Linked DNA regions of Homo sapiens: regions 1, 3, 4, 5 and 6 are each linked to region 2. Evidence: promoter capture Hi-C in 16 types of primary human blood cells and fetal thymus (Javierre and others, 2016). All regions are on one chromosome and are shown on one strand. The core of a region is centred on a gene start or on the middle of the fragment in contact, and the rest is flanking DNA. Distances in the headings are between cores, read along the strand shown.

Evidence for each region. Contacts are between HindIII fragments. The CHiCAGO score rates a contact against its expected background, and 5 or more counts as called.
Region 1: a contact is called between the fragment with the promoter of BCL10 here and the fragment with the promoter of SSX2IP in region 2, in 3 of 17 cell types (naive CD8 T cells, activated CD4 T cells and total CD8 T cells). The highest score is 5.8, in naive CD8 T cells.
Region 3: a fragment that was not itself captured here is called in contact with the fragment with the promoter of SSX2IP in region 2 in 6 of 17 cell types (total CD8 T cells, non-activated CD4 T cells, naive CD8 T cells and 3 more); the score reaches 6.8 in total CD8 T cells.
Region 4: a fragment that was not itself captured here is called in contact with the fragment with the promoter of SSX2IP in region 2 in 12 of 17 cell types (erythroblasts, fetal thymus, monocytes and 9 more); the score reaches 10.5 in erythroblasts.
Region 5: a fragment that was not itself captured here is called in contact with the fragment with the promoter of SSX2IP in region 2 in 7 of 17 cell types (total CD4 T cells, total CD8 T cells, total B cells and 4 more); the score reaches 8.9 in total CD4 T cells.
Region 6: a contact is called between a fragment that was not itself captured here and the fragment with the promoter of SSX2IP in region 2, in 4 of 17 cell types (erythroblasts, total B cells, non-activated CD4 T cells and 1 more). The highest score is 8.9, in erythroblasts.

What each region holds. Positions count from the first base shown.
Region 1 is chr1:85,274,935-85,278,100 of GRCh38, forward strand. It overlaps BCL10 (BCL10 immune signaling adaptor), which reads right to left and starts at 1,698. Exons shown (of 3, transcript NM_003921.5): 1 at 1,362-1,698. The coding sequence starts at 1,418. BCL10-AS1 (BCL10 antisense RNA 1) reads left to right here and starts at 1,424. Exons shown (of 2, transcript NR_045484.1): 1 at 1,424-1,863; 2 at 2,707-3,154. RefSeq lists enhancers at 891-2,090, 1,296-1,998. The HindIII fragment of the contact is 19,185 bases long and covers 1-3,166 here.
Region 2 is chr1:84,689,009-84,692,063 of GRCh38, forward strand. SSX2IP (SSX family member 2 interacting protein) reads right to left here and starts at 1,453. Exons shown (of 14, transcript NM_001166293.2): 1 at 1,363-1,453. RefSeq lists a silencer at 905-1,664. The HindIII fragment of the contact is 1,864 bases long and covers 62-1,925 here.
Region 3 is chr1:85,252,831-85,255,673 of GRCh38, forward strand. All of the region lies in intron 2 of C1orf52 (chromosome 1 open reading frame 52), which reads right to left. Among named protein-coding and RNA genes, the nearest start is that of C1orf52, 5.4 kb to the right of the region's middle. The HindIII fragment of the contact is 2,205 bases long and covers 193-2,397 here.
Region 4 is chr1:84,151,270-84,154,339 of GRCh38, forward strand. All of the region lies in intron 1 of PRKACB (protein kinase cAMP-activated catalytic subunit beta), which reads left to right. Among named protein-coding and RNA genes, the nearest start is that of PRKACB, 8.5 kb to the left of the region's middle. The HindIII fragment of the contact is 552 bases long and covers 1,136-1,687 here.
Region 5 is chr1:84,167,297-84,170,456 of GRCh38, forward strand. The region is part of intron 1 of PRKACB (protein kinase cAMP-activated catalytic subunit beta); the gene reads left to right. Among named protein-coding and RNA genes, the nearest start is that of PRKACB, 25 kb to the left of the region's middle. The HindIII fragment of the contact is 735 bases long and covers 1,067-1,801 here.
Region 6 is chr1:84,101,580-84,104,479 of GRCh38, forward strand. It overlaps a transcript of PRKACB not described here. Among named protein-coding and RNA genes, the nearest start is that of PRKACB, 41 kb to the right of the region's middle. The HindIII fragment of the contact is 3,291 bases long and covers 1-2,900 here.

The DNA of each region.
Region 1 (3,166 bases), core at 448-2,947, 590 kb after region 2:
AACAAAGACCTGGAAGCCACTCTTCACATCTGTACTTGTATACAGATCTTATTTCCTTCCACTTGTAATTTCTCAGTTCCTGTTTTATTAGCTGTAAAATGGGAATGGCAATTATCTTCTTTAGAGGTTGTTGCGAAGGTTAAGTGGGAACATTGTAAACTGTGTGACACAGCATCTGGAACATAGGAGGCCTAGCTCTTGGAAGTTCAAGGTTTTACTGGCACTCACCATGAATAAGACAACATTTATTCTACAGTAGTTATTTATGTTCCATTCTTATCTCAACTAGAATGTAAAGCAGGAAACTGATCTTCATTTTTTTGTATCCTTCCAGACCCAAGGCCAGTGCTTTCCATATAGCAAGTGCTCCATAAATCTCTGTTGAATGAGGAAACTAAGCACAACTCCCAGTCATATCCAGTTTCCTTCTGCTGGTGAGTCACACCAATTGTGAGTACAGTGTAATAAACCTTACAGGGAAGAGGAAGGGATTTGAAGTGGATGAACATTTAAAAAGTTGCCATCCTGTCCAGTTCATCAAAATGACTTTGTAAAAGTACTGCAGTGTTCAATAAGAACACGTTTCATGTTGAGTTTCTGTTTTTCATTTGACTTCAGATAAAGTATTTTAGTGATACTCATATAGGTCTCATCTGACAAAACAAGTAAACGCAAAGGAAAAAGAATGTCATATCTCAACAAAGCCATTCGTTACGAATAAATATGAAGGTTTATGTGGTTCTGCACCATCCGAGAAGAGCATAATTTAGCTACTGAATATTTTCGACGTTTACCTGTACATTAATTCTCAGCTACGTGTATTCACTCCCCCAACCCCAATTTAAATATGTGGGCGTCTGCTTACTAGGGGAATTCCAGGTTGTGCTTTCAGCTGTTGAGCTTCCTCAAGCCCCCTTATGCAAAAGAGCTTCACATTTTTGGTCCACTGCTTGGGATCCTTCACCTGGTACAGCCTTCGCTCTAGGCTGAGTGAGCAGCCTAGGCAGCCTGACTTAAGGATGAATCTGAGCCGCCAGTCCCTAACGAAGCATCTCCAAGAACCCAGTTGGGGGGAAAGCATGAGGAGATGGGTGAGGAGTGGGCAAGAATCAAAACACCACTTGGCAACAAAGCCCAAGCTCTGCGTTTAGCGATGTAAAACCTGGATTGACAGATCACTGGAGGATCACTGCCACCAAGGTCCCTCGGATGCAGGGCTCGCCACAGTCCTCCTGTGCTAGGACTTTCCGCTCCTCCGACCTGGAGGATCCTCCTTGTCCTCGGACTCCAGGCTTCCGCTTTCGTCTCCCGCTGGGCTGCAGCCCGCCCCCGCCCGCCCTGGGCACAGCTGCGTTACTCACGTCCTTCTTCACTTCAGTGAGGTCCTCCTCGGTGAGGGACGGTGCGGTGGGCTCCATGGTGGAGGCGGGAGATGGCGCTTCTTCCGGGTCCGGGAGCTCGGGCTGCGCCGCCCCGCCCTGGCTGGGGGCTTCGGCCTCCGGGTAATGGGGAAGAAGGAGAGGAGGCGGAGCGGGTCGGGAGAAAGACGGCCGCCCCTTCGGGAACAGAGGGACTCGGGGGTCAAACCGTAGCGCTTCCGGCCCCGCCTCTGAGGTCGACGGCGACGCGAATCTACGCGACGCGACGCGGAGCTCGGAGCAGCGTTCCTTCCCTCTCGTAGAGGCTCAGGCGCAGGCACCGCCCCACGGCGAGGCGCGTCGCTTAGCAGAGCCCGCCCTGTCTCTGCGGCAGCCTATCGACGCCAGCCCGCGGGCCGATCCTGTTCCCGCCCCCGACCGGAGCCTTTCGGGTGGCTCCGCCCACAGCGGGCGTTTCCTCAAGCCACGCCTGCGCAGGTCGTCGGTAAGTGGCCCGGGTTAGCTTCCTCATAAGGCATCGTTTCCGTGGGTGGGGTCCGTCAGTGCCCAGGCAGCTGGCACTCTCAGCCTTTGCTGCCTGCTCACTTCGGGGGAGTCCGGTCTGGGCTTGTCAGTACCTTGGGTTCCTCCCCTTTTCCCAGACCCTGCCCTACAATTTCCTGTTGTTACGTTTGCCAGTTACTGTTTTGGTCACACACAAACGCACTCATACACACATACACATGCATACACACAAACAGCCTAACTACAATACTAAACAAATTTTTGAAAGAAAAAAAGAAACCACCTACAATCCCACCACTTTAACACCTCATTTAACGTTTGCATACTTTTTGGTCACTGTTCATTATAAACATAGCTTTTCCTCATTAGTTAATCTGTGTAATGGAGATAGATATGCTTACCTTTTAGGGCTGCCGGGATCATATGTAAAGTTCTTAAAGGTAGTTGGGCACACAGTATGCACTCAACTGATTATTTATTTATTTATTGAGACAGGATCTCACTCTGTCGCCCAGGCTGGAGTGCAGTGGTGCGATTCTCGGCTCACTGCAGCTTCCACCTCCAGGGCTCAGGCGATCCTTCCACCTCAGCCACCAAGCAGCTGGGAGTCCAGCTAGTTTTTTTGTATTTTTTATAGAGATGGAGTTTCGCCATGTTGCCCAGGCTGGTCTCAAACTCCTGGGCTCAAGCCATCCACCCGCCTCGGCTTCCCAAAGTGCAGGGACTACAGGCATGAGCCACCCAGCTCATCCTACTCAAACATTTATTGAGTCCTTACTAATATGTTCTAGGCAACTTATACTATGAGTCCTCCATTTTATAGGGGGAGACTGATGAAGAGACGACTATCCCCAGACCGTATTTTAACTACTATGGCGCTGTGTAAGAAGCAACCTGAGAAGTGTGGATGAAAAGCTACAGGTAGAGCCCTGGGCCCAAGACGGTGGCTTGGACAACATGCTAAATAAACTATAAACTAGATGGTATTTGAAGCTACGAGAGTAGATAAAAATGACAGGAGGACCAAGGAGAAACTTGGGAACGCCAATGTTTAAGAAACGGGAAAGCAAAAAAAAAAAAAAACACACACAAAAAAACAATGTAACCAGAGCCACAAAAACCAGAATCACAGCAAGGGATTCTGATGTTTACATTATGTCCTGTTTCCATGTTGACACATTACACAAGGACAGTTTTTTTCTAATTGCTTAATTTTTCATCATCTTCCATCCGATTTACTGAACCATCCTTAACTTTAGGATGAATCCTTTCATTTAACAAAT
Region 2 (3,055 bases), core at 203-2,702:
GAACAGAGTGTTAAATTAGCTATTAGCTTTCCTTACTTGTTTAGTGTGAATGAATAACCTAAGCTTCCTAAGCCTGTAGGTTGATAGTTTTAGGATAAGAGATCTGATGGATCAAGTTTTGCCGACTGGATCCAAATTCATAAATCTACCTCTAACTTCTAAATTTCAAAATAGCTTGACGTGAACTTTAAAGGCATTTCTTTCCTCTCCAAATTTCTAATTCTTTACAAATTTTATTCACTCTCCTAAATGAGTCAACTCATACCAACCTTTCTAGTTCAGGATCAAACTGTAGGATCACCAGAATTTTCTTCTACCCCACAGTAAGCCAAACCCCCATGAACCATGAAAAGGTCCATGACATCCATCACCCACAGCTAACTCTACACCTTGACTCTAATCTGAATTGTTAGAAAGCCCAGGAAGTTCAAGAAGCCTCCACCCTTACACTTCTAAATCACCTTCTTTTCTAATCCTCAACCTATTACAGCGTCCAGAAAAGAGAAATCTCAATTCTCTCAGATTCAAGAACTTTATCAGCGTTGCTAGTAATCGCAGTTTGGCATTTACAACTATGGGTCCTGAAACTGGGTAATAATCTAAAAATTCCTACATTATACGTGCAGACAGCAAATTAGTATATTCTATGTCCTGGGCCCAAGCGATATGCCTAACTGGGCAATCAGCATAGGCTCAAAAAATGTGCAGGGAGCTCACAATTCAGTTTACTGTCGTTGACTATAAAATTCTAAACCAAAGTATTTTCATGATAAAATTATAAACCAAAGTATTTTCACACATGCCTGCCTCTTGGATGATGTAAATTCTTCCCCTAGACTTTTTACTAGACCACTATCGGGGTTCTCTTCCACTGCAGCGGCCACCCAATAACTCGTTTTAAAGACTGCCTCTTGCGGCTGCACTAGCAAATCGCCAAACCCCGCATGCCCCACGGCCGCTGCTGAGACTCTGCAGCCCCAAATCGGCCATCCCCTCCTCCCCCACGTCCCCGCGCTGCTCGTCCCCCAACGCCGGGCGCCAACCTTGCTCCATCCCAGAGAGGGTTTGGGGCTCCCCGGGTCAGAGCGCTCCGCAGGCGCAGCTCCGCGAACGCCAGCGAGAGCGGTCCCGGGGCCAGCACCTACCTCCCACCTCCTCCTCCAGGAGCGGCCCGGGTCGACGCTCGCCCGCACCCTGCAACGGCCCCAACAGCCGCGCGGAGCCTCCCGCCGAACAACGGGGCGCTGAGCCAGGTGCCGGCTCTCACCTCCGCGCGCGCCCGCCCCTTGCCGGCGCCCACCCCCGCCCGCCCCTCCCTGGCGGGGCGCGTCACAATCCCCGACGCGAGGCGCTGCTGCTCACCGTCACGGCCCCCGGGAGCGGCGGGGAGTCACCGCTCGGCGTCCTAGCCCGGCTCCCGCAGCCCGAGGGCCAGCAGCGCCTCGCAGCGCCTCCCGCCCGCGGCCCCTCCTCCGCTGCGGGCTCCCGCCTTCCCCGCCCCTTGCAGCCGCCTCCCGGCCTCCGCAGGTTTCCGAGGTTCCCACCCCGCCCCCGCGCGCCGGCGCCGCAGGCCCCGCCGCCTCCCATTGGCTCCGCCAGTTGCTAGGCGATGAACAACCGTGGCCTGCATTGGTCGGGTGGGGGCCTCGGTAGTCTCCTCCTTACCTCCAAAAAAACCCGGAGAAAAAGAAGACCTTATCCCTGCGGTCCGCGCGCGCTGCGGGCGCAGCTGCGGCTGCGGCACCTGTTACGCCCAGTGATTCACCCGGCCGTTTTCTGCTCCCCGCCCCCTTCTGACGCCTGCAGCGTCCGGGGCCGGGGCTCTGTGGGGGCCGGGACTCTGCAGGGACCGGGGTCGTGGCTACTTTAGAGCACGTTTTCCGAGCCCCACTGAACCCCAACACCCAGCCTAGCAGCAAAAGTGAAGCTTCCAGGAGAGCCACGTGCGTTTGCCAAAGTGGAGAAATAAACTGCGGGCACCTAGAATTAGGTCAGGTCCAAGGAACGGGAGGTTCAAGCGTCGGGAGTCGTGGATGCAAACAATCCAGCCGGGAGAAAGTTATATGTAAAATTAGGGCGAAGAAATGGATCTGGGCAGAAGACCGCGGGCAAAGGAAAGACTAAGAAATAGCATTCGTGAACTCAGTTTATGCAAAAATGTCTTACACCCACTCGACAAAGTATGTGCGATGAAAATGTATGCCTGCTGCACCCGTGGCCAGGGTCAGGCTGTCTCCTCCCTGGTTTCATGGCAGCCTAAAATTCACTGGGGAAGAAAAGAAAAGAGGCCAGAGAAAGGAGATCAGATGGAGAAATCACAGGCATATAGGTTACACAAAGATGTTCTTTGATTTTTGTTTTGTTTAGTTTTGGTGAAGCCAAGGGATTTATTCAAAAGGCGAAAAACAGGTTTGGTGTTTTAAGGAGACTCCTGAGAGCACTTTGAAACCAAAACAGTATGAGTGAAGATGCTAACACTGAAAAACAAGAGCGGGAGGAATGTCCACCTCCCAGTTTGCATGCACGTATCCCCAATCCTGGATGAAAGATCAGGGCCAGAAGAAGCACGCCACGGTGACAACTTCAGGGCCCAACGAAATCCTCCTCTTTTCCTTTGGCCAAGCAATCAGAGGCCCGTCTAGCTGCTGTTGAGCCCAGGTGGCGTTACCATTAACAGTTACATTTTTAAAAGGTTTGAACCAAGCTTAGTTGAGCTCTGGGAAGTTTAGCTCTGACCTCAGCAACCCCGGGAAAGGAATAAGATCTGCCTGAATAAACCAGCGGTCTCAATCTTTTGGTCTCAAGACCGCTTTCCACTTGTAAAATTATTGAGAGCCCCAAGAACTTTTCTTTATGTTGGTTACAGCTATTAATATTAAAACAGAAATTTAAAAATTGCTATTTTTTAAAATAATAATGAATAAAAATAAAAATGTCAAATAGCGCATTTTAATTAAAAATAACTATTTTCAAAAAATTAGTTAAAAGAATGGTGTTACTTTAAAATTTTGCCCATATCTTTAATGTCTTGCTTAATAGAAGGCATTTGGATTTT
Region 3 (2,843 bases), core at 45-2,544, 560 kb after region 2:
AATAAAAAACAAGAATTAACTTTTAGAGCTCTGATTTTTAAATGCAAGTGAAAGTGAGCAATTTTTTTTTTCAATTGCAGCCATACAAAATTCACAAAGTAACTCTTTAGGTGCTATACTAAGGTAGCTTAAAATAAGTGACTTTACTTCCCCCAAATCAGACTTTTGAAAAAGGCTCCCAAATACTCAGCAAGCTTGTCCAACCTGCCTTATTTGTTGTTGTTGTTCTGTTTTGTTTTAGGCTTTTAGCAGCCTGAAGCCATGGTTTTTAGTTTCTGTCTCTAGTGATAAGCAGAAAAGAAGGATGATGAAGGGGCTTTATTGGCCCAACCAATAACAGAAACTAAGAACTCATGACTGTATTCTCTCCCTTGGACACCACTGCATGATAGTATTTACATTGTATATATTAAAATACAATCAATGCTTTGTAAGAATGGAGCATATTGTTTTCTTTTTACAAAAAATAGGTATCACTCTAACGATGACATTATTTAAGTGGCTATCAGCTGTCCTTTTCCTTTCAATCTGCTTTCTCTCCTCCAAAAACAACTTCTTCTGCCCCATCACCTTCTCCACCCACCCCAAATCCTTATTTTGAGGTTAAAAAGCACTCACAAGTAGGTTTCCCCAAACCTCTATTTGGAATTTTATTCTAGTAAGTTCTAATTCCCATCCCCGCCCTCCCCATCCCCACTCCCACGATGGCCAGAACATTTTAATGGCAACAGAAAAATACATATCTTCCTACTTCATATTATGGAGAATTTGGAGAGGGGAGGGAGGTTAGAGAAGAGCCTTACATTAAAACAATGTTCTTTACACCTTTCCAAAATGTTAATAGTATCTGTAGCCACAGAAAATTTCCAATTCATAAAAATGTTGTCAAACCTGGAAAAGTGAACTCTTTTATTGTATTTTAAAAAATCCAACTACATGGTTAAAAAAAAAATACAGGGTAGCACAGACTAGTTGCTAATTCCATCTCCCTAAGCAAATGTGTGGTATTAAGAACTCCATATAGACAGAGTAACATGGAAAAGATGTTATGATTTATAAAATACAAATTTATTTTGAGCACATTACTAATTAATTGTAGCTTTTGACTTTATTTTCTTGATCAACAGATACTCAAAAAGTTCAACAGGTTATCATGTGGAGATCTATAAAATATCTTGATATTGAAAGGAGCCTTCATTATTAAAAAATGTGAGGAACTACTGACATCAAATCATAAATTCCTTGAAGGAAATATTAAAATCTTAAGCCTTCAATTCCCTTCTGCTGACTGTACCATAATCAGAATATCTCATTTATTGATGCAGATAACAATCAATACCATTCATCTTCACTCCCCTTCAAGCACAGCACGGTGATGTTATTCATATGCTTCACAGAGCACTATGGATTTATGTAGGCAGTGGAATAAAATACAATTCAGATCAACTCACCCCAGGAATTTACAAATCAAAGTTTTAATCAGTAGTTCATCATGTTCATACAAAAACACTGGCTCCACAAACCAAATAACATGGTATACCACCAAAACAAGCCAAACGTTTTGCTTTTTTTTTTTTTTGAGATGGAGTCTTGCTCTGTTGCCCAGGATGGAGTGCAGTGGCACCATCTCAGCTCATTGTAATCTCCACCTCCCAGGTTCACGCCATTCTCCTGCCTCAGCCTCCCAAGCAGCTGGGACTACAGGTGCCTGCCATCACACCCAGCTAATTTTTTGTATTTTTAGTAGAGACGGGGTTTCACGGTGTTAACCAGGATGGTCTCTATCTCCTGACCTCGTGATCCACCCACCTCGGCCTCCCAAAGTGCTGGGATTACAGGCGTGAGCCACCGCACCCGGCACCTTTTGCTTTTTAACGAGTTAATTATCACTAAGCTCCTCTTTTGAGATTTTCAGTAGTGATAATATAAAAATGGAAAGTACTAAGTTTACTATAATATTCACTATGCATTAGCATACATTTAGATGATACTGAGATATTTTTGCTTTTAATTTGCCACTTATTACAAGTAAATTAACTGAATAACAAAACCACAAACTACTGAAGTTAAAAAGTAACTGGCTATCAGTGATTTGAGCAGAAGTGCTATGCCATCTAGTGTCATGACAAGGCATTGCTTTATAAACTAGAGTAGGAAAAAATCTGAGCAATGTTCATTTATCAATTTTACTGAGCTTTTTTACTCGGTCTCATATAGTATAGATGTACTGGTAAGGAAACAATTTTTTTATTATGGAACTCAAATCACTCAAGTAAGTTTAACTTATCAATAGACAAACTTTCTAAATTCTAAAAAGTGTAAACTAAAAATCACTATATTAATTATGCTTTTACAATTAATTATTATACATGTCAATAAAGCTACAACTAATAACTAAGCTTTGCTTACCTACATTTTACAACCACTAAAACCAGAAGTGGCAGGGTGCGGTGGCTCACACCTGTAATCCCAGCACTTTGGGAGGCTGAAGCGGGCGGATCACGAGGTCAGGAGATCGAGACCACCCTGGCCAACATGCTGAAACCCCATCTCCACTAAAAATACAAAAATTAGCTGGGCGTGGTGGCGTGTGCCTGTAGTCCCAGCTACTTGGCAGGCTGAGGCAGGAGAATCGCTTGAACCCGGGAGGCGGAGGTTGCAGTGAGCCGAGATCACACCACTGCACTCCAGCCTGGGCGACAGAGCGAGACTCCATCTCAAAAAAAAAAAAAAACCCGAAGGGCTGATAAGCAGCAAGACCCAATGATGAGTTCTGAACCTTTCCCAGCCCTTCCTCTAAAGTAACTGGAAGACGTTAACCGGCAATAAAAGGCCAAAGGGCA
Region 4 (3,070 bases), core at 162-2,661, 540 kb before region 2:
GTACATATCTTAATTTGAAATTATTTTATTGCTAAAAAAATACTAATGATCATCTCAGCTTTCAGCATTTCCCAATTTTTTTGCTGGTGGAGGGTCTTGCATTGATGTTTGCCTGCTGATTGATCAAGGTGATGGTCGCTGAAGGTTGGGATGGCAGTGGCAATTTCTTAAAATAAGACAACAAAGTGACACACTTGACTGACTCTTATTTTCATAAAAGATTTCTCTGTAGCATGTGATGTTTTTGGTAGCATTTTACCCACAGTAGAACTTCTTTTAAAATTGGAGTCAGTTCTCTCAAACCTTGTTACTGCTTTACCAACTAAGTTGATGTAATATTCTAAATTCTCAGGTGTCATTTCAATAATCTTCACAGCATCTTCACCAGAAATAGATTCCATCTCAAGAAACTACTTTCTTTGCTCATCTGCAAGAAGCAACTCCTCACTCGTTATAGTTTTATCAGGAGATTGCAGCAATAGAGTCACATCTCCAGGCTCCACTTTTAATTCTAATTATCTTGTAATTTTTTACCACATCTGCAGTGACTTTCTCCACTGAAATTTTAAACCGCTCAAACGCATCTATGAGAGTTGGAAACAACTTCTTCCAAACTCCTGTTGATGTTGATATTCTGACCTCCTCCCATAAATCACAATGTTCTTACGGCATCTGGAATGGTAACTCCTTTTCAGAAGGTTTTCAATTTACTTTGCCCAGATCCATCAGAGGAATCACTATCTGTGACACCTTTAGCCTTATAAAATATATTTCTTAAATAATAAGACCTGATCCATGCCTGCAGAATGGATGTTGTGTTATCAGGCATGAAAACAACGTTCATCTCCTTGTACATCGAGCTCTTGGGTGATCAGGTGCATTGTCAATTAGCACTAATATTTTAAAAGGAATCTTTTTCTGAGTGGTTCCCAATGGTGGGCTTAAAATAGTAAACAATGCTGCAAACAGATATGGTGTCATCTAGCCTTTCACATTCCATTTATAGAGTACAGGTAGAGTAGATTTAGCATAGTTTTTGAGGGCACTAAGAGTTTCTAAATGGTAAATGAATATTGGCTTCAATTTGAAGTCACCAGATGTATTAGCCCCTAGCGAGAGTCAGCCTGTCCTTTGAAGCTTTGAAGCCAGGCATTGCCTTCTCTCTAGCTAGGAAAGTTCTAGATGGCATCTTCTTCCAATAGAGCACTGTTAATTCTGCATTGAAAATCTGTTGTTTAGTCTAGCCACCTTCATCAATTATTTTAGCTAGATCTTCTGGATAACCTGGTGCAGCTTCTCCATTAGCACTTGCTGCTTCACCTTGTACTTTTATGTTATAGAAAGGGCTTCTTTCCTTTAAACCTCATGAACCAACCTCTGCTAGCTTCAGACTTCTGCAACTTCCTCACCACTCTTAGCCTTTATAGAATTGAAGAGTGTCAAGGCCTTGTTCTTAATTAGGCTTTGGCTTAAGGAAATGCTATGACTGGTTTGATCTTTCCAGACCACACAACTTTCTCTATATCAACAATAAGGCTGTTTTGCCTTCTTATCATTAGTGTGTTCACTGGAGCAGCACTTTTAGTTTCCTTCAGTAACTTTTTTCTTTTGCATTCTCAGCTTGGCTGTATGGTGCAAGAGGCCTAGCTTTTGGCCTGTCTCAGCTTTCAACATACCATCCTTACTAAGCTTAATCATTTCTAGCTTTTGATTTGAAGTGAGAGATGTGCAATTCTTCCTTTCGTCTGAACACTAAGAGGCCATTGTAAGGCTATTGATCGGCGTAATTTCAGTATTGCTGTGTCTTAGGGAATAGGAAGGCCCAAGGAGAGGGAGAGAAATGGGGGACTAGCTGGTGAGTGGAGCAGTCAGAGCACACACAACCCTTATCAATTAAGCTCACCATTTTATTTGGGTGCAGTTTGTGGTGCCCTAAAACAGTTAAAATAGTAACATCTGAACACAGATCGCCATAACAGATATAATAATAATGAAAAAGGAAATATTGTGAAAATTATTAAAATGTGACACAGAGACATGAAGTGAGCACATGCTGTAAGAAAAATGGCACCAACAGATTTGCTTGACACAAGGTTGCCCCAACCCTCAATTTGTGAAAAGTGCAATATCTGCTGAGTGCAATAAAGCAACACACAATAAAATGAGGGGTGTGCCTGTATTAATGCATTATTATTAACTGCAGTTACCATTCTATACGATGAATCTCCAGGACTTATTCATCCTGTCTAAGTGAAATTTTGTACCCTTTAGCCAACATCTCCTAAATCTTCCTTCCCTGAACCCTCCCATCCTTCAGCCCCTGACAACCAGCATTCTATTCTCTACTTCTGCGATTTTGATGTTTTTAGGTTCCACATGTGTGACATTATGCAATATTTGTGTTTCTGTGTCTGCCTTATTTCACTTAATATAATGTCTTCCAGGTTCATTCACTCTATCACAAATGAAAGAATTTCCTTCTTTCTTAAGGTTGATAGTGTATTCCAGTGTGTAGAATACCATACGTCGATGCCATATCTTGTGAATAATGCTGTAATGAACATGGGAGTACAGATATCTAGATATCTCTTAGACATACTGATTTCTTTCTTTTGATACATACTTAGAAGCTGGATCATATGATAGTTCATTTTTAATTTTTTGAGGATCCTTCATATCATTTTCCATAATGGCTGTACTAATGTATATTCTCACCAACAGTGTGCAAGGGTTCTGTTTTCTCCAGGTCTTAACCAGTGCTTGTTATCTTTTGTCTTTTTTATAATAGCCATTCTAACAGATGTGAGGTAGTAGCTCATTGTGATTTTAATTTTCATTACCCTCATGAGTAGTGATGTTGAGCATTTTTCATATACCCATTGACCATTTTTATGTCTGCTTTTGAGAAATGCCTATTCAAGTCACCTGCCCATTTTTTAAATTGGGTATTTGTTTTCTTGCTATTGAGTTGTTTGAGTTCCTTATATATTTTCAATATGAACTCCTTATTAGATATGTGGTTTGCAAGTATTTTCTCTCATTCTGTAGGTTGTCTCTTCACTCTGTCGAC
Region 5 (3,160 bases), core at 184-2,683, 520 kb before region 2:
TAAAAGTTAAACTCCTTATTAGGTCACATGCAATCAATGACTTACCTTTTTGGTTTTGTTTGCAAAATCTCTCTCACAAATTTTGATCTAGCCATACTATATTACATATAATTCCTTGCTACCTTTCCATATTTATAGTCTTTATCATAAAAATTTAGAGAACCAGTCATTACCTCCGACACTGACCCTGTGGAATTAGGTGATTTCTCTGTACTCCCAAAGCAAACTTACAAACTACAACAATTATTGTATTATATTGAAATTATAAATTTGTATGTCACTTTCTAATCTCTAAATGTTGAACTCAAGTCAAGGACAGTGCCTTATTCATTGTATGTTTCTAGTAGTCACCCCAGTACCCCAAACACAGCAAGGTACCCAATAAATACTTATAGAATTAATGATAAACTAAATATAATTCATTTTTACATACTTGAACAGTTCCCTTACATTGCCAGTGAAAAATACCAGTGTGGGTTTTGACTTTTTTTGGTTCAGAAAAATACAATAACCATAGTATTTACTTGTTCCTTTATCAACTTTGTAGGATGAAGTCATATAAAATGCTTAAGAAACTAAATTGTACCAGTCAGTACCTTTATCTTTCTAGTATTTAAAAAATTGGTTATATGTGAAAAGAGCCTTCACTTTCTAAATGTTTTTCTTACTCATAACTCTTTTTGTGAAGTTTTTGCCCTTGTTAAGCAAACAAGGTCTATAAAGAAATACTAAAGGAACTTCTCTGAAAATCAGTCAAACTATTGTAAGGCCCTTATGTTTAGAGGTTGTAGCAACTCACTCAAATAAGCTTAAGCAGAAGAAGATACAGGTATTATTGGGATGCAGAGGATGTCATGGAGCTCAAAGGCAAAAGTAGAGTTGAGCTGTTCCAAAGAGTAGAATTGATTTGGAAAGCTGACTGGAATCATAACAGTACCTTTCTCAGTTTTTCTCTCTGAGATCACATGACGTCTTTACTTTTTTCCTTGTATTTGCTTTATTATCCTCACTGTGTAGCGAATAGGTTTCTCTGATGCTTGTGCAAAATGGAGCTTAGTCATCTGAAAGCTTCAAAGTTTATGTGCTCTCCTAGTTCATGTGCTTTTTGATGTAACTAGCATCATTATATCAAAATCCTGGGTGAGAATCCTGGCCCAGCTGTAGTTGAGGGCAAATCTCTGAAGAAGAAGGCATGAATCTGCTATGAATTACAGCACCATACAGACTTGAATACCAACACTTCATTAATTTCCCTTTCTAGATTCTGACTGAAAATACTGTGAGAAAAAAAATTGGGAAAGCAGTACATCATTTCTGAAATTAAAGATGGTTATTTGCCCAAATATGTACAGGATTTTGATGATCAGACTCCAAAGTCTAATTAACAGTTTTAACTTGAGTAGCTTTTCTTTATGGAAAAGAAAGAAATAATAGTTTCACCCTCACTAACTGGGAGGGATGAGGAAAATAAGTGGAAGATCCAACACTGCTCATTACTTTCATTCTAAAACAGCTATAGTGGGACAACCAAGAATGTATTAGGCCTTTTCAAGTTGAAAAGTGGCCTCTCTTTAAATATAGAAGGCTCTTTCCTGACATAGAAGGCATCACTACCAGCAAGGAATCCTATAGTCCTGGCCACATTCCCATTTATGAAGGTCACTGGATTACTTACCTGATAATGTAAATATGTGTACGCTAAATGATGTGAAGAGTTTAGTCTAACAGCATCTAAACAGGAAATGAGAAGGGCCAAAGAAAAACCACTTACCTTATTTGGGGCATTTGTAAAGTTTTGAAAAGCTTGTAATTGTTCTTGAATGAATAAAAAAGAAAAGCAACAATGTGGAACCTATAAAAGAGGTTATACACCATAAAACGATAAAGTTACAGTCTCCAAGAGGTAGAGAATGAACTTATATTTAGAAAATATTTGTGCAGGAGAGTATAAACACAAAAAATTATAGATGCCATCTGTGTTAATTCTTAAAATTTCAAGTGAGCATGGAGTTAGTGAACTAAGACATGAAACAAAGATAAAACAAGAACCTAGAATGAAAAGATTACTGGCTGAGAGGCAGGAATGGAAAAGAAGCATAATGTTGTGATAGGAAAAAGTTGTAAGAAATAAACCTGGCATTTTTAGAATATAAAGCTGCATTAGAGGCAATAAAAACCAGAATAATCATTGCAGAAAAGTAAATTAATAATGTGAAGATCTCTCCAGATAGACCCTAATAGAATGTAGAGGAAATGGACAAGATAAAAATTATAAGATGGAAAGTATGTTAAATAAAAGCAGGACAAGAAATTATAAAAGAAAATAAAAGGACATTTTACAAATTGAATGGATAGCATTCCACAGAACAGAGCAGATATGATTTATAGAACAGAAAAGCAGTAATCAAAAATATGATTCAGGAAAACTTGTTAGTTGAAGAAAAACTTGAATCTTTAAATTGAAAGACCTCATTTTGTTTTGACAAGATTAACAAAGATGCCAATGCCTAAATACATCCTGGTGAGCATTTGGAATTTCCAGCATAAAAAAATGAAATCCATAAACATTCTGATGTCTTTGCATCTTACAATCTAACATGAAGCTTGTCCTATAAAGAAAAAAATGCAAAATTGGAGACTAGATAACTTAAAAATCTTTTGAGGGCAGAAATTATTTAAGATCAACAGCACCTTGAAATGCTGAATAAACTGTAACAAGTGCCCCTTTAAATGAATACCTGAATTTACCCTTTAAGTGAATTCTAATTTAATTAAAATTAAATAAATTCCCAAAGTGCAAAAATTGAAGTGGTAAATGAGAACCAGAGCTGTAAGGGGAAGCATACTTCAACTGCCCTGAGGACATTTTTAGACCTTGGTGGGGCTTTCGTTTAAAATGGCCTAACAGAGATGGATGATAGGTTGTTTAATGCATACAGTTTAGGATTTCTTAGCCCCCTGTATAAAGCCAGGATCCTGCAAGGATCATAACCTCAGTGAAAGCATAGATGAGAAAATAAAACCTCTCCACTGACAAAAGGAGAAAATAAGGAAGCTTGTGTTTCTTGGCTTGGGTTCCTGGGAACAGGGGAGGGATGTGTGTGCATGTGTAGGATGCCTCTCCTGAGAATTTTTAATCAAGTGCCTCCTCTCAAGCAGG
Region 6 (2,900 bases), core at 72-2,571, 590 kb before region 2:
CTCCCATTACCACAGCCAAAAAAGATTTCAGGTGTTTTTCAATAGAAGGCATATATAACCTTTAAAGCAAAATTATAAATACAAGAGCCTTGAAATCAAAGGCAAGAAGATGGTTGAACCAATAAACCGATGTTGAAGCTAGTTACTGTATTTGAGCATAAAATTTAGCACTACATGGTGAGGATACAGTATAAAGCCACTTTCCTAGTGCCAAATTGTAACAGGAATTTAATCTATCTAAATACAGGGAGCAGTGATTTACATAATAAATGAGATAATTATTATTTAATAAAGATTTAGAGAATTCTCTAGATTCCTGTGTTCAAGAAGGAGGGCCTCAAAGCTGCCTGCAGTTATATTTTTATGATAATTATTTATTACTATCTCATGACTTAAAAATTTTCTTAACAAGTAAAATAACTACCTTTTAAAAAATACTGTAAGACCCTTTGCTATGACCTCAGATAATTTAAAGTGATGTCTCACAGACCTTTATTTAGACTGAAAGGCTTATAAAAATTTTGTGTGTGCCTGTAATCCCAGCACTTTGGGAGGCCGAGGTGGGCAGATCACGAGGTCAGGAGTTCAAGACCAGCCTGGCCAATGTGGTGAAACCCCATCTCTACTAAAAAAAAAAAAAAATACAAAACTACAAAAATTAGCTGGGCGTGGTGTTGGGCACCTGTAGTCCCAGCTGCTTGGGAGGCTAAGGTAGGAGAATCGCTTGAATCTGGGAGGCGGAGGTTGTAGTCAACCGAGATTGCGCCACTGCACTCCAGCCTAGGCGACAGAGCGAGACTCCATCTCAAAAAAAATAAAAAATGAAAACAAAAATGCAAAAAGAGAATCTTGTGTGTGGCTCACGTTACTCTAAATTAGACAGTTGGGGTTTTTAGAAATCTTAAGGACTTGTCCCATAGCAGTCTTATGTGAGGCCCAAGGTAGAGAAAGCCCTCTCCAAAGGGAATGTGGATGTGGCTTTTTGTCTCTTGGAATATATTAGAATTTGATAATATGAGAAACCCACAGAGTTTTAAAAGAAATTGTATTAATGTTGATTGAAAGGGTCAGAGATAATTAATAAGGAAAAAAGTGTACGGGCCCTCACCTACTGTGGAAAGGAAGCAGGCTGAAAAGCTACTCACCTCTTCACATAGGCCATTTCATGTGAAAGAATGATTGAGAGAGGGCAGCCAAGAAGCCAGAGAGTACAGCTAAGAGACAAGGAGAACTACTCTCAGGACTAATCAAGGAATGAGTGACATGTGCCCAACTGGACTTTAGAATTGCTATTGATGAGGGAGTGTTTATACCTCTTGTTTTCCCTCTTTTTGAATGGGAGTATCCATTGCAATTTCTATTCCTATCTCACCATCGTGTATTGGGCAGATAACTTGTCTCTTTAGTTCACAAGTCTTTAGATTAAGAGAAACTAAGTATGAGGAGTTGCACTCAGGAAACTGGATCTGAGAGGCCTCATCTATACCTGCATTTGATTTAGATTACATCCTGGACCTTAGGATAAGGCTTCTTGGGGTCTTGGAAGGAGTAAAGTATATTTTGAAAATGGAGGAGTATTCTGTGACAAAGTGAAGATGGCTACAAATTCTTAACCACCCTTTTCATCTAGAAGCATAGCATATTTCTTCATTCCACTGAATCTGGGCTGGGTTTCTCATTGCTTTAACCAGTATAATATGGTGGATGTGATGCTAGATCCGTTACAGGGTTGAGGCTCTGTCCTCTTTTAAGCGAACTGCTATGCAAGAAGTCTGACTATTCTGAGACCAACATGCTGTTCAAAGCCCAACTAGCCACTTAGAGAGAAAGAGACAGAGAGATGGGGTGTGGGGGTGGGGGGTAGAGAAAGAAAGAGAGAGATTGGTAGCACTAGATAAGGTGAATTATTTCATGGGCCTTTTAGTCAGCCCAGCCTTCAGCTGAAGACAGATGAGAGAGTGACTCAGCAAACAGTGTGAAGTGAGCCAGCAGACCTATGACCTCATTTGGGCTGTTCCAGCTTCTCGCAGCTGTTGAGCCACCCAGCTTAGACCCCAGACATTGTGGTATAGAGATGAACAGTTCCTACTGTGTGTTGCCCAAATTCTTGACCCAGAAAATTGTGAGCAAAATATGGTGATTGTTTGAAAACTAAGTTTGTTACATAACACAGATAACTGAAACACAAGTAGAAAAATTCTATCACCTGCCCAACCTCACAGAGCCAGTAAGAACTAGTGTTCTCCCCTTCCCTTTTATTTTTAGTTGACACATAATAATTGTACATATTTATAGGATACAGAGTAATATTTTGATACATATGTAATGTGTAATGATCAAATCAGGGTAATTAGTATTTCCTTACCATAAACATTTATCATTTCTTTGTGTTAGGAACATTTAAATCCTCTCTTGTACTTGAAAATGTACAGTAAATTATTGTAAATTATAGTCACCATACAGTGCTATGGAGCACTAGACCTTACTTTTCCTATCTAGCTGTGATTTTTTATCAGTTAACCTCTCTCTAATCTGTAGTAACCCACAATTATCTAATTCTCTTCCCAACTTTTAATAACCACAATTCTCCTATCTACTTGTATGAGCTCCACTTTTAAAAGCTCCCTCATATGGGTGAGAACATATGGTATTTTTCTTTCTGTACCTGACTGATTTCACTTAACATAACATCCTCTAGGCTCATCCATGTTGCCACAAATAACAGGATTTCATTCTTTGTTATGTCTAAATAGTAGGTCATTGTTTATATACATATATATACACTTTCTTTTTCTGTTAATCTGTTGATAGATGTTTAGGTTGATTCCATATCTTGATTATTGTGAATAGTGCTGCAATAAACATGGGGTGCAGATGTCTCTTCAATATACTGATTTCCT